Linked DNA regions of Homo sapiens: region 2 is linked to region 1. Evidence: promoter capture Hi-C in human tissues and cell types (Jung and others, 2019). All regions are on one chromosome and are shown on one strand. The core of a region is centred on a gene start or on the middle of the fragment in contact, and the rest is flanking DNA. Distances in the headings are between cores, read along the strand shown.

Evidence for each region. The method cuts DNA at HindIII sites, captures the fragments that hold promoters and counts their contacts. A contact is called where the count stands out against the background at its distance.
Region 2: a contact is called between a fragment that was not itself captured here and the fragment with the promoter of SOX10 in region 1, in 1 of the 25 tissues and cell types used here (lymphoblastoid cells).

The regions. Positions count from the first base shown.
Region 1 is chr22:37,983,187-37,986,127 of GRCh38, forward strand. SOX10 (SRY-box transcription factor 10) reads right to left here and starts at 1,369. Exons shown (of 4, transcript NM_006941.4): 1 at 1,153-1,369; 2 at 171-682. The coding sequence starts at 598. It also overlaps a transcript of POLR2F not described here. RefSeq lists enhancers at 1-475, 2,430-2,941. The HindIII fragment of the contact is 28,697 bases long and covers 1-2,941 here.
Region 2 is chr22:36,715,235-36,718,175 of GRCh38, forward strand. All of the region lies in intron 1 of CACNG2-DT (CACNG2 divergent transcript), which reads left to right. Among named protein-coding and RNA genes, the nearest start is that of CACNG2-DT, 13 kb to the left of the region's middle. The HindIII fragment of the contact is 3,277 bases long and covers 1-2,941 here.

The DNA.
Region 1 (2,941 bases), core at 119-2,618:
GTCCTTGTGATGGAAGGGCGGGCGCGGCCCCCACACCTGGTCTTCCAGCCCTATCCAAGGAGGACTGCCAGACAGTCCCGCTCTGAGGTGCAGGAGGCCGGGCCGCCTCGGCTACCCTGAATCCACCCGAAGCTAGAGGGCCCGAGCCCGGGGGGCGGTCGGGTGCTCACCTCCAGAGCTTGCCCAGCGTCTTGCTGAGCTCAGCGTTGTGCAGGTGCGGGTACTGGTCCGCGAGCTTCCTGCGCGCTGCCTGAGCCCACACCATGAAGGCGTTCATGGGCCGCTTGACGTGCGGCTTGCTTTTGCTGGCGCCGTTGACGCGCACGGGCATGGGCACCAGCGTCCAGTCGTAGCCGCTGAGCACCTGGCTGACGGCCTCGCGGATGCACACGGGGAACTTGTCATCGTCCGCCTCGCCGTCCTGCTGCTCCTTCTTGACCTTGCCCAGCTCGCCTGGCCCCGGGCTGGCTCGCAGGCCCGATCCGCCGCCGCCGCCGTCGGGCCCTAGCGAGGGCGCGCTCCCCGGGGACAGGCAGCGGGGCTCCTCCGAGCCCACGGGGCTCAGCTCCACCTCCGATAGGTCCTGCTCCTCCGCCATGTCGCCCCCGGCCGCCGCCGCCGCCGCCTCGGCCGCCTCCCCCGGGCCAGCCGCCGGGGTCCTCGCAAAGAGTCCAACGCCCACCTGGATGGAAGGAGGGCGCGATGGAGCGGCCGCGCGCGCAGCCCCGAGGGCGGCCCGAGACAGGACGTGGGCACAGCCCCGAGGTGGCGGCCCTTCCTGCTCCAGCTAAACCCATCTGGCCCCTGGGGCCCACGCACATGCCAGACTCTAGGTGGGTGCGTCCCGCCTCTGTGTCTTCCCACCACCTGGTCCCAACCGTCTCTTGGTGTGGGTGGCTTTTTTTTTAGCCTCCTTTTTTGGGTGGAGGTTTGTTGATGATAAGGAAGAAAAAAACGGAGCCTTTATTTTGCTCTAATCCCGGCCCCTGGAATTTCCCACCTTTTCTCTCACCTTTCCTTCTTCCCTCAGCCTGCCCCAACGGGGTTTAGAGGAGAGCCAGGTGGGGGGCAAGGGCGGGGTGTCGCCTCTCTCCACCTCACAGCAGGGTCCCAGGCCTGGGCGGGCCAGGGAGGAGCAGGCTGCGCACTCACCTCCTCGGACCTCTCCTCCAGTCTGGGGCTCGTCCTTAGGAAGTGGAAAACCGTGTCCCAAGGTGTGCGGTCCAGCTCGGGGCTGGGAGGTGACGCTGGTGGGCTGGGAGGGAGGGGCGGGGGGCCCTGAGCCTCAGGCCACGGCCTCGTTAGGACGGAGCCTGAATCCTTACCACCAACCACCCTGGCCGGACAGCCCGAGACTGACTGAGCGACTGAGCCTGAGCCGCTGCGGAGGGCTGGGGAAGGAAGGAGGGGGAGAGGGGGGAGGGGAGAGGAGGGAGGGAAGGGCAGAAGGTGGAGCCTCCAGGCTTTCCTTCATCCCCAACACTCAGGGCTCCTCCACCCGGAGCCCAGGCCCCCCCACCCAGCTCCCTGCCCTACTGCCCAGGCCCATCTTGCTGAGGCTTATCTTGGGCTTAGTCTGGGAGGTGGAGGGGAGGTTAGGCCGAGGAAGGAAGAGATGTAGGCTGGAGGGTCAGAACCTGTTGGATGGAAGAAAATTGGGCCCAACCAGGACTCCTAACGTCTGCCTCAGGTGGCAGGATGGGCACTTGGCAGGGGACTAGGGAGAGACGTGAAGGCGGTGAGGGTCCTGGGGGCCCGTGAGGGTGGCTGGCCCTAGCTGCTTCGTCTGCGAAATCCTGTTGAGTGCCTAGTGTGTGCCAGGCACTGATGCCCAGCTCCTCACCCTGCCTCCTACCTTTTCCCAGGCAGCCCTTTCTGCCCCATCCTGCACAGTAAGAGAGACTTCTCAGGGATCCCTCTGAGAAGTGCAGAGCCCCAGCTTGACCCCTGGTCCCTTCTCTGCAGACACCCAGCACACGCGCGTTCTGGTCTGGTTCAAGGTGGAAACACAAGACTAAAGCTGCCAGGAGGCCAAGGTGGGACAGGTTGGGGGCCCTCTCTCAGTAGGTCTTAGAGGCATTTTGGGTTGCTACCTACTGGGACCCAGCTCCTTCCACACTGGGCTCACCCTGTCTTGGGAGAGGGTAGGGGAGTCCTAGTCCTGATTGTCACGAAGTCCTCTACTCCCCCACCCCAACAAGGGGTGGGGACTTGCCCTGCCTCTTCCCTCCTCTGCCCACCTCTCCCTCCCTCCCCTTTTCTTTCCTGCCCATCCTCCGTTGACACCTTTTTCTCTCTCTTTCCTTGGCCTCTCCTCCAAAGGTCGCAGTGCTGTTCTCTTAACTGAGGGCAGCCCCGCCGGGGTGTTGAGGCCGAGGTGGGGTGTATGTGGGTTATGTAATGGAGCTGGGGTCGCATTGGCAACCATGTGACGTTCTGAGCTCCTCAACAGCAGGGCAAAGCCCCAAGACCACCCCAAGGGGTCCTGTCTGGAGTGGGCTGCAAAGGGTCTGGGGAGGCAAGGCCTCATGCTTGGGAAAGTCCAAAGGGGTGTAGGGGGTGGGAAATGGGACACAATGAGGTAGTCACACGAGGCAGAGGCATGTTGGGGGTGGGGGGAGCAGACACTGGAACACACACACACACACACACACACACACACACACATGCTCACACACACAACCAGCCAGACAATCGGGCCAGTGTGTCTGGGGCCTCGGAGCCCAGTGAATTAGGAGTTTGATAAGGGTTTTCTCTTTCTCTCGCTTGCTGGCCTTGGACAATCTCCCCCCAGTTTTCCTCGACGCCACCCCCGGCGCTGCCAACCCTCCTCCCCCCGCCTCCCTTCTCTTCCCTGTGCCCAGACTCTTGTTCGGGGCCTTGAAACAGTGAGCTGTCTTTGTTCGAAATACAGGTGAACGGCAATCATGTGATTAACACA
Region 2 (2,941 bases), core at 235-2,734, 1.3 Mb before region 1:
TGTATATATCCCTCTCCCATCTCCGTACCCATGTTACAACCGATATATCTCTAGGTGTTCAAGCAATCATAAGCAAAATAGACACGCAGATCGTCTTCACACACAAACACACCTGCGCATATCCAGATGCCACTCACATACAGAGAGCTGGACCATTCTTTTACAGAATGGGATTATACGAGGCACCCTTTCTGTGTCTTGCTTTACTCATTCAAACACCACCACCCGTGGGAATCCCTCCAAGTCAGCCTCTGCAGCTCTAATTCATTCTTTTAATGGCACCATCATTTTTCAAAGTGAGGAACTACTATAATTTCTTCATCCAGTCTTCTATTGACAGACGTTCACTTTATTTCCAATTTTTTTTTCCCTCTGCTATAAGCAGTGCTGCCATAAACCTCCTTGTACATACATCCTTCTAACTGGAGATTTTATTTTGATGGAATAGATTCCCAGGAGGGGGATTGCTCAATTGAAGAGACTATGTATTTTTTATTTTAGTCAATGTTGCCAGATTGCTTTCCAAAAGTGCTGTAACACTTTGCGTTTTCTCCAACAATTCATGAGTGCTTTCCTACTGTTTCCCAGCAGCCATTCCAGCAACAGGTGTTAGCATTATTTTTAATTTTTGCCTGTCTAATAGGGGCAAAGTGAAATCTCAGTTAATGTCCTATACAATAGTGAGTGTGCATATTGTTGTATGTTTGTTGGCCATTTAGATTTGTACTATGTCTTGCCTATTTTTATCCTTTGCCTAACTCCAGTTCTCCTTGTTCATTGCTTATCAGTTTATAACAGCTCTTTGTATATATAGATATTAACATTTTGCTTGATATCTGTGTTGCAAATAGTTTTGTGCTTAAATCTTTTGTTTTTATATCAATGTTGTGAATATCTGTTGCCACAAAAGTAATTTTTATGTAGTAAAATATGTCTTTCTTTAAAAATATGACTCTCTTGGTGTTTTTAAAAATGCTCTGAGATCACCCTTGTCATTTCCTACATTTTCTCCCAAGATATTTATTATTTTAATGTTGGGGGCTGTTAACTCTTTAATCCATCTGGGGTTTATTTATGTGTGTGATTGTAAGAGGAGGTTTCAACTTTCTTACAAAAGCTAGCTGGTTGTGCTGGCATGATTAATAAAACAGTTGCTCCTTTTCCAGCATAATTGAAATACCATCTCTGCCACATATTAAATTCTCATGAATACTTTGATCTAGTTCTGAGCTGTCTGTTCTGTTCCACTGATCTGTGTATCGCTTCCTCACCAGCACCATTCAGATTTGATTATAGGGGCCTTAATATGTTCTGATCTCTAATAAGCCACGTTCTTCCCCCATATTCTTCTCTTTCGCAGGATCTGGTTGTTCCCGGCTCTGCATTCTTCTACATGAACTTTGAGCTGGTTTCATTCAATGGTGCCTTATACCACCCCTGCATCCCAGGGCCTGAGATGGGGCTAGACATTCAGCAGGGGGGCAGGAGATGTTTGTTGAATATAGTTGATGCTCTCATACCTCCCCAGTGCCTCCTAACCCCCACCCCCAGGACTATAAGATATTAAATAGTATTCAAACCAAAGTTAATATGAAAGTGTGTACATAGCAGACAAATCTAACTGAATGGAGGAAGCTTCAGAGGCCTTTAAAGCAAGGAGAGAAGTCGCTCTTGTATTCAACACCTATTTATTGAGCACCTACCATATGCTAGACCTTATTCTAGCGCCTGGGGATATAGCAGAGGCCAAGGGAGACAAAAGTTCAATTTCAAGGTGTGATAATGGTAACGTGTTAATTATTTTTTGGTGAGATAATGATATTGTTGTTATGTTTAAAATAAAGAGCGCTCAGCCAAGTGTGGTGGCTCACGCCTGTAATCTCAGCAGTTTGGGAGGCCATAGCAGGAGGATTGCCTGAGCCCAGGAGTTCAAGACCAGCCTGGGCAATACAATGAGACCCCATCTCTACAAAAATTACAAAAAAAAAAGATATTAGCTGGGCACGGTAGCGTGTACCTCTAATCCCTGCTACTTGTGAGGCTGAGGCAAGAGGATTTCTTGATCCCAGGAGTTTGAGGCTGCAGTGAGCTGTGATCATGCCACTGCACTCCAGCCTGGGCAGTAGAGTGAGACTCTGTCTCTAAAGAATAAATAAAATAAAATGAAGAGTCTTTACCTTTAGAGATACTTCCTGAAATATTTACTGGTAAAACTATGTAAAGTCTGTAATTTGTTTCTAAATAACCTAAAACTGGGGGGAAATGGATGAAAATATAGATGAAACACAATTGACCTTAAATTGGCAATTATGGAAACTCAGCAATGGGTAAATAGGGATTTATTATACAGGCAAGTATCCCTTAAACAAAAAGTGCTTGGGACCAGAAGTGTTTCAAATTCAGAGTTTTCGGATTTTGGAATATTTACATATCATAATGAGGTATCTTGGGGATGGGATCCATCTCAAAACATGAAATTCATTTATGTTTCATATATACCTTATAGACATAGCCCAAAGGTGTTGTTATGCAATATTTAAAATAATTTTGTGCATGAAACAAAGTTCATGTGTTATGAGGTCAGGTGTGGACTTTTCCACTTGTGGCGTCCTGTTGGTGCCCAAAAAGTTTTGGATTTTGGAACATTTTGGATTTCAGATTTTCAGATCAAGAATGCTCCACATCTACTGTTTTCTCTACTTTTGTCTGTATTGGAAATATTCCATGATAAAAAAAAGTTTTAGAAACGCATACAGAGCTTATTATGTTCCAGACATTGTTCTAATTGCCTTACGTCCATTCATTCATCAAATCTTCAAAACAGCCCTAGGAGGAGGGTATTATCATCCCAGTCTTACAGATGAGAAAAGCGAGGCCCCATGAGATCCAGTCACTTGCCCAGGGTTGGTCTCAGTGAGTGAGTGGCAGAGCTCCCTGGCCC